Linked DNA regions of Homo sapiens: region 2 is linked to region 1. Evidence: promoter capture Hi-C in 16 types of primary human blood cells and fetal thymus (Javierre and others, 2016). All regions are on one chromosome and are shown on one strand. Each heading gives the region's core, a stretch centred on a gene start or on the middle of the fragment in contact. The rest is flanking DNA. Distances are from core to core; before and after follow the strand shown.

What was found. The method cuts DNA at HindIII sites, captures the fragments that hold promoters and counts their contacts. A CHiCAGO score of 5 or more calls a contact.
Region 2: a fragment that was not itself captured here is called in contact with the fragment with the promoter of PLXNB3 in region 1 in 1 of 17 cell types (total B cells); the score reaches 5.5 in total B cells.

Annotation. Positions count from the first base shown.
Region 1 is chrX:153,761,136-153,765,645 of GRCh38, forward strand. PLXNB3 (plexin B3) reads left to right here and starts at 3,114. Exons shown (of 36, transcript NM_005393.3): 1 at 3,114-3,169; 2 at 4,336-4,445. The coding sequence starts at 4,401. It overlaps PLXNB3-AS1 (PLXNB3 antisense RNA 1), which reads right to left. Exons shown (of 3, transcript NR_199696.1): 2 at 2,575-2,714. The HindIII fragment of the contact is 7,823 bases long and covers 2,158-4,510 here.
Region 2 is chrX:154,485,128-154,489,495 of GRCh38, forward strand. It overlaps UBL4A (ubiquitin like 4A), which reads right to left and starts at 1,488. Exons shown (of 4, transcript NM_014235.5): 1 at 1,410-1,488; 2 at 1,101-1,206; 3 at 644-852; 4 at 1-522. The coding sequence starts at 1,457. The coding sequence ends at 412. It overlaps SLC10A3 (solute carrier family 10 member 3), which reads right to left. Exons shown (of 2, transcript NM_019848.5): 2 at 2,184-3,955. The coding sequence starts at 3,813. The coding sequence ends at 2,380. RefSeq lists enhancers at 177-935, 936-1,694, 2,032-2,091 and silencers at 872-1,021, 1,512-1,771. The HindIII fragment of the contact is 182 bases long and covers 2,181-2,362 here.

The DNA of each region.
Region 1 (4,510 bases), core at 1,864-4,363:
CCAGACTCTGCCTCAAAAAAAGAAATCAAAGCTAAAAAGACTGGAATAGAAGAAACAAAATGGTCATTACTTGCAGATGATAGGATTGTGTACGCAGAAAATCAAAAAGAATCCACAAAGAGAACCCAAACATAATTATTAGACTTAATATGAGAGTTTACAAGGTTACTTGATACATAGAAATCCATTGTTTTTCTATGTACCAGCAACACACAGTCTGAATGGGAATTCAAAAGAAGGTAGCCAGGCGCAGTGGCTCACAGGCTCACGGGCCAGCACTTTGGGAAGCCAAGGCGGGAGGGCCGCTTGAGTCCAGGAGTTTGAGACCAGCCTGGGCAACATAGCGAGACCCTGTCTCTACAAAAAAATTACAAAATTAGCCAGGCACTGTGGCGCCTGCCTGTAGTCCCAGGTGTTTGGGAGGCTAAGGTGGGAGGATCACTTGAGCCCAGGAGGCTTCAGTGAGCCATGATTGCGCCAATGCACCCCAGCCTGCACGACAGAGCGAGACCCCGTCTCAAAAAAAGAAATCAGATTGATAAATGCTATGATATTAAAATTAAGACTTTCTGTTTATCACATGATACATCAGCAAACTGAGAAGACAAGTAACAGGTAGGCCGAAGACATACACCCCAGGGATTGGTGTGGAAAATACAGAACACCTGCAAAGTGTAAGCCAAGACATGCACGGGCATTTGACAGAAGAAATGAAAAGTGCTGCAATATGGCCGGTGGTCAAGGAATGCCGATTCAAAACCCAGCAGGGCACCATTTCACACCCACTGTATGCGCAGAAACTCTCAAGTCTGCTCTCTGGTGTACGTGAAGACGTGGTGCAGCAGTGGCAGTGGGGGTGTCCGCTGGGATGCCAGCATGGAGAGCTACGTCTTCAGCCCAGCAAACGTGAAGCCCACGTCCCACTGACCCAACGAGTCCCCTTCCAGCATTGAGAAGCCTGGCACACAGCAAGGAGACGACACCAGATCAGTTGACGCTGCCTTCCCATCCCTTGGTGAGGGGACCCGGCCATTGCAGGATAAATCCAGCACGACTCCCCTGACATAAGATGTTCCGGTTCCCCAAACCAGCCTAGATCCTTTCTGGTTACACCAGCTTCAGACCAGGGGCTGCCATAGCCACGCCTCTTATCTGCTCAGAAAGCGTAGAAGGTGCATATGCAGGCCATATACACACATATTTATGAAAATGGTGCTGCCTGTGGATGGATTTATTTTCTTTTTTCTTTCTTTCTTTTCTTTTTTTTTTAAAGACAGAGTCTTGCACTGTCACCCAGGCTAGAGTGCAATGGCACCATCACGGCTCACTGCAGGCACCAACTCCCAGGCTCAGGCGATCCTCCCACTTCAGCCTCCCAAGTAGCTGGGACTACAGGCTCGCACCACCATGCCTGGCTAATTTTTAAATTTTTTTATAGAGATGGGGGTCTCACTATGTTGCCCATGCTGGTCTAGAACTCCTGGGCCCAAGTGATCCTGCTGCCTTAGGCTCCCAAAGTGCTGGGATTACAGGCGGGAGCCACGACGCCCAGCCTGATTTATTTTCTTCTGTGGAAAGGAAGGAGAAACCCATTCCCCATGCCAGATTGCAGGCGTCTGTCTCATCCGGGGCCAGCAAGGACATGTGTGTGTGTGTTGGGGTAGGCATGGGGGGAAGGACAGGGAGAGGGAGAGAGGCCAGCTGGCTCCCCCAAGCCTCCCCTCCTGGAGCTTCTAAATCCCTCCCTGGCTCCTTCAAGGCTGCCTGGCCTTCCTGTTGGGGAGAGACCCCTCGCCGGCTGCTCACTCGCTTTTTGGTGGTCCTTCCCACGGGCCTGCCTGGTCTGCCTCCACATCCTCAGCGGCTGCAGGTGAGAAGCTGTGGATCTGGGGCCCAGTGGTCCAGAGCGTGGCCCGTGCCAGAATGCCCAGGTTCAAATCCCATCTCTGTGGAATGCACTCTGAAGAAACGACGTCAGGTCATGGCCCTGGGCAAGTTACCCACCTCTGTGCCCCATTTCTCTCCATGCAGGTTGGAAAGAATGACACAGCTGCTCAGGGAAGCACCCATACCCCGAGTCTGCTGGGCCTTTGAGCTCCAGGGCCAACACCTGGCCCTATACCCTGGCCGCCCCCAGGGCTCCAGCCACCTGAGCCAAGCTTCTCACCCCCAGGCCTCCCCAGCCCCATCACCATTTCCTCCTCCCTCATGGGCCCCTCAGTCTTACCGTCCTCCCACTTCCGCCAGCCCCTCTGTGGATGGCCCTGCCACAGGGGGAACAGTGCCCCAGCAGAAAAGCCCCAGGGTCGCCTGGATTCTCCTGCCTTCGCCTCCTGCCCTGGGTCCAACGCACAGTCTTCAGAATGCTGCCTCCCCAGAGCGCCTCTAGAACGCGCCCGCCTCTCTCCATGCCCATGACCACCACTGGACCAGGCCTCCCCACATTCTCTGCCCCAGTGCCACCAGCTTGCAGTTGCCCATGGCGAGACAAGTTCAAGTTCTCAAGCCTGGCCACAAAGACCCCACCTGATTTGCTGACCTCCGCCACACCCTGGGAGACGGCCCTTGACCAACCTTGTGTTCCAGTCGGTGGGAAACACTGGTTTTTCCTCAACGCCACGTGGGCATGTCACGTCCAGGCCTGGCCTGGGGTAGGCCTCAGCTCCATCTCCTGCCCAACGCCTGCCAAGGTTCATGGTTCAAGGTCATGTAGCCTGACGGTTAAGTGAAGGGGCCCTGTGATTGACTCAGCCTTGCCACATACTAGCTGTGTGACTTTATTCAAGTTTCCTAACCTCCTGTGCCTCAGTTTCCCAACCTGTGTTTGTTTCTGGATGGTGCCAGTGCCAAGCCCAAGCCTGGCATCCAGTAGGTGCTTCGTGCCAGGTTATGGAATGCCCACCCAATAGGAGGGCGCTGCCGTCTCTCACCTGCCAGGTGCCCACGGTCAGTACTCCATCATGCCCGCTGCGGCCAGCAGAGGGCAGCAACATCCTGCCCTGTGCCATTGGGCAAAGGGGCGGGCGGAGAGAGGCTGGGCTGCCTGGCCGGGCTTGTTGGGATGAGTCGGACTGGGCACGATTGCATTGTGGGGAGGGAGGCTGGGGCTCTGTGAGACGTGCTCCTGGCACCGCCAGCTGCTACTTGGCCCTCGCCGGTGGCCCACCAGGTAGGCAAGAGCTGGGGCAGGCTTGGGCTTGGGCTTGGGGTGCAGGGGCTACCAGCCTCAGGGCAAGGCATCAGGGTCTCAGGGCCAACTGGCTGGGGTCAGGCAAGAGCGCTCGGGTGTCGGCCCAGCCTGACGACGGCACTAGGTGTCTGGGAGCACGGTGTCCCCCAAGTGGTAGCCCTGGGGTTAGGAGGTGGGGAACCATGTTTCTTCCCCGAAATGGGAAAGCCAACGCCAGCCTCGGGCAGGGTACAGGGTAGAGAGGCTGCCCGCCTGGCTCCCCACCCCCACAGCCACCCAACTGGCCCAGCCAGGTGACAGCAGCCCACTGCCACCTTGCCCTGGAGCCTACTGCTGCCGTGCTGTGGGGGAGGCAGAGACCCCATCCCCAGTGCACCTGCTCCTGTGCCACTGGCCAGGGTGGCCTGTGAGGGTGACAGGGGGTCTAGCTGCTAGGTGCCCCTCCCTTCCCCATCCCCTGCATGGATGGCATCTAGGCCAGCAGGACGGTGCTTCAGAGGGTGGGGTGGACAGCCCCGGCCTGTGGACCCTCTGCCTCAGCCCATCTCAAGCAGCCTCCTCCCGTGGTCCTGCTCGCTGCCACCATGCTGTACCTGGCACCACTTCACCAGTCCCCAGGGGCAGGGCTGGGCTGGGGGTGTGGAGGAAGATCTTTTGGACAAAGGCAGGCATTGAGGGCCAGGACTGGCACTTCACCCAGGCCCCAAGGCTACCAGCCGGCATTTGCAGGGGCTCCAAGGTCCACCCCGTGCCCTTCACAGGGACCCGGGGAGCCAGGGAGGGGCATGCTTAGTGACACAGGGGTTGCAGGGCCAGAGGGGGAGGGCTGGCTGGAGGAAACCCCGGCCCTTTGTCCCCGGATCCCGGGGGTGGCTCCCTGAGGGTGGGAAGTGGCAAGGAGCCCCCTGTCCAGAACAGCCCAGTGGGGGTGACAGCACTAGCGAGTGGGGCCCTGGCCTGGCCTCTGGACAGAGGGAACATTGTTGTGGTGGAGGCAGGGCTGCCTTGGCCTGGCCACTATTGACAAAGCTGCCAGCTGTGAGGGAGCCCGGTCGCTAGGCCCTGGGCGCCACCCCCACCGCCGCCCCTCCTTCCCCAGGCCAGCTCGAATGGGGCTGAGCCTCGACTGTCTCCCTCCCACTCAGGACAATGCCCCCCCGCAGCCATCTCATGCCCATCGCCACTGCCCTGGGGCAGCTGAACTGAGCGTATGTGCCACGCCGCCCAGGAGACCCCTCTGCTGCACCACTTCATGGTAAGTGCCCAGGCCCGGTGTCCCCAGAAATGTTCCTGGGAGGGGCAGGGTAGGGCAGGATGGCT
Region 2 (4,368 bases), core at 1,022-3,521, 720 kb after region 1:
TAAGCTGAGGGCTATGTTGGACCCGCCAGAAGTCAGGTGACAGCTGCTTTCCCTTTCAGGATCGGGAGGGAGTCACCTGAGGGTATATTCTCAGTGGGCTAAACATGACATGCGAGAGCCCAGCTCTCCAAGCGGCCCCTTCCTCCTTCTCACACCAAGGCACTTTCAGAAGCCGCTGGATTCCGACTGGGGCTGTGCCACTTCATCGCCGGTGCCTCTGCTGTGCCGGCTCTCCTCTTCTGAGGGTGTGGAAGCAAACCCAGGTCAAGCTGTGAGGAGTGCCTAGCACCTGGCCAGAGCCAGGTACATGCCAGCTATGATGATGATGAGCCCAACTGCAACAGGAGAACACACTTAGTGCGACATGCAGCGGTAGCCTGGCGTTGGGCACCTCCCCATGCTCCGAGAATTCTATTTGGAGAAGCCCTTCTCCATTGTCTCAGTCACTTCAGGGTGCAGGAAGCGGCTGGCCAACCGTTCGATGTCGTCCAGCGTCAGGCGACTCAGGGACCTCTCGTAATCCTGGGGAGAGAAGGGCAGGAAGATTCAGGGGCTGCCAGTGGTGGGGGGGCATACACTGCAACAGAGGTAGGGGCTGGGAGCAACTGGGCCTGAAGAGGATGCCCAGGGTTACCCTTCTCACCCTCTGTAGCTGTTCCAGGACCCTGCTGGCATCTGCCGCACTGAAGTGGCGGGCCAAGACTTTGGAGATCAGCTGCCAGACCTGCGGGGGTGGGGAGTCGGCCAGCCTCTGGGCCTCGCCTTCTTCTAGTAGCACCTTCTCCAGGGGTTTGACCACTAGGTTGAGCTTGGAGTTGGGCCCGATGCTATAATCCGAGAGTCGTTTCCCATCTGCCAAAGACAGATCGATGGGTTCCTCCTCCTCCACCGCCGTGGGGGTGGCCCGGGGCGCGAGGCCGCCTCGGGCGGCGGGAGCGGAGCGCTGCGGCATCCGGCTGTGAGGCATGCGGCCGCCTCCCTTGGGGTCATGTGGCGCTTGGCGCCCGCACCCCGACCCGACACACGGCTGCTGGCCTCGGCCCGCGCACCCCGGTCCCGCTTCCTGCGGGGCTCCCCGGGCGTCTCCTCTCCCTGGGTACCTGCCAGGGCCTTGCCCTTGAACAGCAGCCGCTGCTGGCGCACTGGGACGTTCAGCTTCTCGGAGACCAGCTGCTTCAGCGTGGACACCAGCTCGTCCTCTGGCACCTGGCCGCGCGGAGGGTGGGAGGCAAGGGTTGAGCCCGCGGCCCCCAGACGGCGAAGCCCACGCGTCCGCCCCCGAGGGCAGCTCTCCCGGCTCCCGGCCCTCGGCCCGGCCGCCCCGTGCCCGCCCTCGGCCCTGCCGGTCCCCCTGCCAGGAGCGGGCGAGAGAGCGCGCCGGACCCGGCGGCCCGGCCCGGGGACCCTACCTGCAGGCTGCACTCGCGGCCCTGCAGCGCCTTCACCGTCAGCTGCATGGCGGTCGCGACGGCGTCCACTCGGGCCGGCGCGCACCCCAACCACCCCCCGCCGCGCGCCGCCGCCCCGGGCGCGCGCTGGAACCGCCCGCCGCCGCCGGAAGCAGCGAGAGGGGCGCGCCCGCCGCCCGCGCTTCCCGGCCCCGCCCTCCTGCCCCGTCCGCGCCCCGGCCCCGCCCCCCGGCCCAATTGCGCCCCGGGAGGAGTCCCCCCGGGGTCCCGCCTAGCATGCGCGCATCGACCGCCCTGGCCGGCGGACCCCTCCCAAAGCAACGACGCGGGGGAGTTGGGAGCAGGAACCAGTCGGGCCAGGTTGGCGTCATCTGGGAGCTGGGACATGGAGAAGGGAGGGCCAGAAGGTACGCTCGCCCCCGCGGACTGCCTGGCCCACCTCACGCGCCAGGACTGCTGGCGGCGCCTGGCCCTGCATACCCACAGACGGCCCGCCCCCGCTCCCTGTCTGGTGGCTTCCTACCTCCTCCTTTCTGGTCTGGCTGCGAAACGCTCCACTGAGCTTGAGAGGGGGCAGGGGGGCTACGCCTCTGCCCTCATCCTCCCACCTCTCCCAGAGTGGGGACACCCCCGGGGAGGGCTGATAGGGAAAGCCTATGCAGGGGTCACCGTGTCACCCAAGCTGGCCCTCCACCCTGGTCCACACTTACCCAGCACACTCTTTCTACCCCCACGCCCAGGCCCCAAAGGGCAAAGAGTAGAAGGGACCCAAGCTTGCTTCTCTCTTTTATTGAAATATATTTTCTGGGCAGCGCCCACCTACCTAACTCAGCATGGCCTCTTTGGCACTGAAAGCTGGAGAATAAAAAATCAGTAAAAAAAATAAGCCTGGATTTTTCTGAGTGCATAGTGCATGAGAACTTTGGTGGAGTGTGGGGGCTGGGGCTGATGAAAGCTTGACCCAGAGGCCTCAGGGAACTGGGAACAGGCTGCTGTAGATGAAGTGGCCAATGACCAAGGCCAGCATCTCGGAGGTGCCGCTCAGCGCCACAATGAAGGGGGCCTGGGAGGCATAGTCAGCTTGAAGGCGGCGGAGGGATAGCTGCAGCATGGCCAAGGCCAGCAGGCTGTTCTGCACCCCTACCTCAATGCTGACCGTCCGCCGCTGGGCCACTGGCAGCTTCAGACACGTGGCTAGGCAGTAGCCCACCAACAGGCCAACCAGGGGCACCGTGATACCCACCAGTACGATGGGTAGCCGGATGCCTGCCAGGATGAAGACCCCCATGCGATAGGCCAGGAAGAGGCCGCCCAGGAGGAGCACAAAGCTGAAGGGCTTGACGACCTGCAGCAGCAGCTGGGAGAACTTGGGGAGCTTGGACTTGATCAGCACGCCCACGGCTATGGGGATGGCAATGAACAGCAGGGTCCCCAGGATCTTGGAGATGGGCACGTGGAGCGTCTCATGGATGCTGAGCAGGCGGCTGTAGATGGCCGAAGACAGAGGCAAGAAGCCAGTGGCAGCCACCGTAGAGAGGAAAGTCATGGAGATGGCCAGGGTGACGTCCCCTCCAAGAAGGAGGCTGAAGAGGTAGCTCCCCCCGCCGCCAGGCGACGAGCAGGTGATGATGAGGCCCAGAGCCAGGGCCTTGGGCAGCATGAAGACCTTGGCCATGAGGAAAGCGTACAAGGGCATGACCAGAAACTGGCCCAGGAGGCCCAGCAGCATGGGCTGGGGGCTCTGCATGAGCCCCTTCAGAACCTCGAGTTCCACTTTGCACCCAAACGAACACTTGTTGACAAAGATAAGAGGCAGGAGCAGGTAGAGGATTGGGTTTTCCGAGAAGTGGGCCAGGTCGGCGCTGAGGGTGGCAGGCGTGTCTTCAGCAGGTGAGACCTTGATGCAGAAGTCTCTCCGCTCCTCAATCAGTGTGGGCGGGGCCTCATGGGCGTCCACGAGCTGGATGTGGAGTGGGGCCAGCCCAGCCAGGCCTGAGTGGATGCTCACCACAAAGCCACCCCCGCCTCCCCAGGTTATAGCACTCACGTTCTTGATGGTCAGCACCTCTGTGTCCAGGGAGGTGACCCTGAGCATGGGGCCAGGCGCCGTCCTGTTGGCCTGGCCTGGGTACTGGCTGGAGATCACGATGATGCCCTCACTGTCCTCAGGAAACTCAAACTCCATCACAGAGCCATCTCCAATGCTCAAGTAGCGGCCCCCAGTCGGTGGCACGGTGTGACCCCCAGCAGTGCTGAGGCTGGTGCTGGCTGTCCCTTGGGCCCCCCATGGCAGGCTGATGAGCAGCAGGGCAGCTCTGAGCATGCTTAAGGGACCTGTGCCACCACCCTCGCCCCCCAGACCAGGCCACTGCTGAGAGCTGCCCTTGTCCTGCATTAACACCATGGCTCTTCCTGGAGGACGGATGGCGTGCCCAGGCCCTCTGCGGCTTAGGAGAACATCCCCACTGGTGCTGTTGGGTTGTCCTGAGAAGGGTTCATGGGTGGGTCCCAGTCCTGTGCTGTCTTCCTTGATGGCAGGGCTGTCCCTGAGGAGGTAAGGGACACAGAGAGGCAGCTGGTGAGGGTCACTTACCCTGGAGGCCTTGGTCCAGCCATGTGTCTTACCTCTGAAGAGGGAGGCAGTCAAGAACCCAGGAGCATGGGGATCTGGAAGCCCACTGCTAAGAGTAAAACTCAGCAGGGACCCTTGCCCCACACTCAGGAATGGAGAGGCAATGCCTAGTGATGGCCCTTGAGTGCCATTCAGCTGTGGCTCCCTGGCCCACTCTACCTGCCCCTACAGTGACTCGATGAAGGTCCTGCTGGGAAGCAGGTCCTCCCTCCCCAGGGAAGTTGCCAGAAGGGGCGGCAGGAGTGGATCAGACAGAGCCACATGTCTACTGGGGGGGTTTCTCCTCCTTTTGTCAGAGCTCCCACTGGGCTGAGACTTTGACCTCCC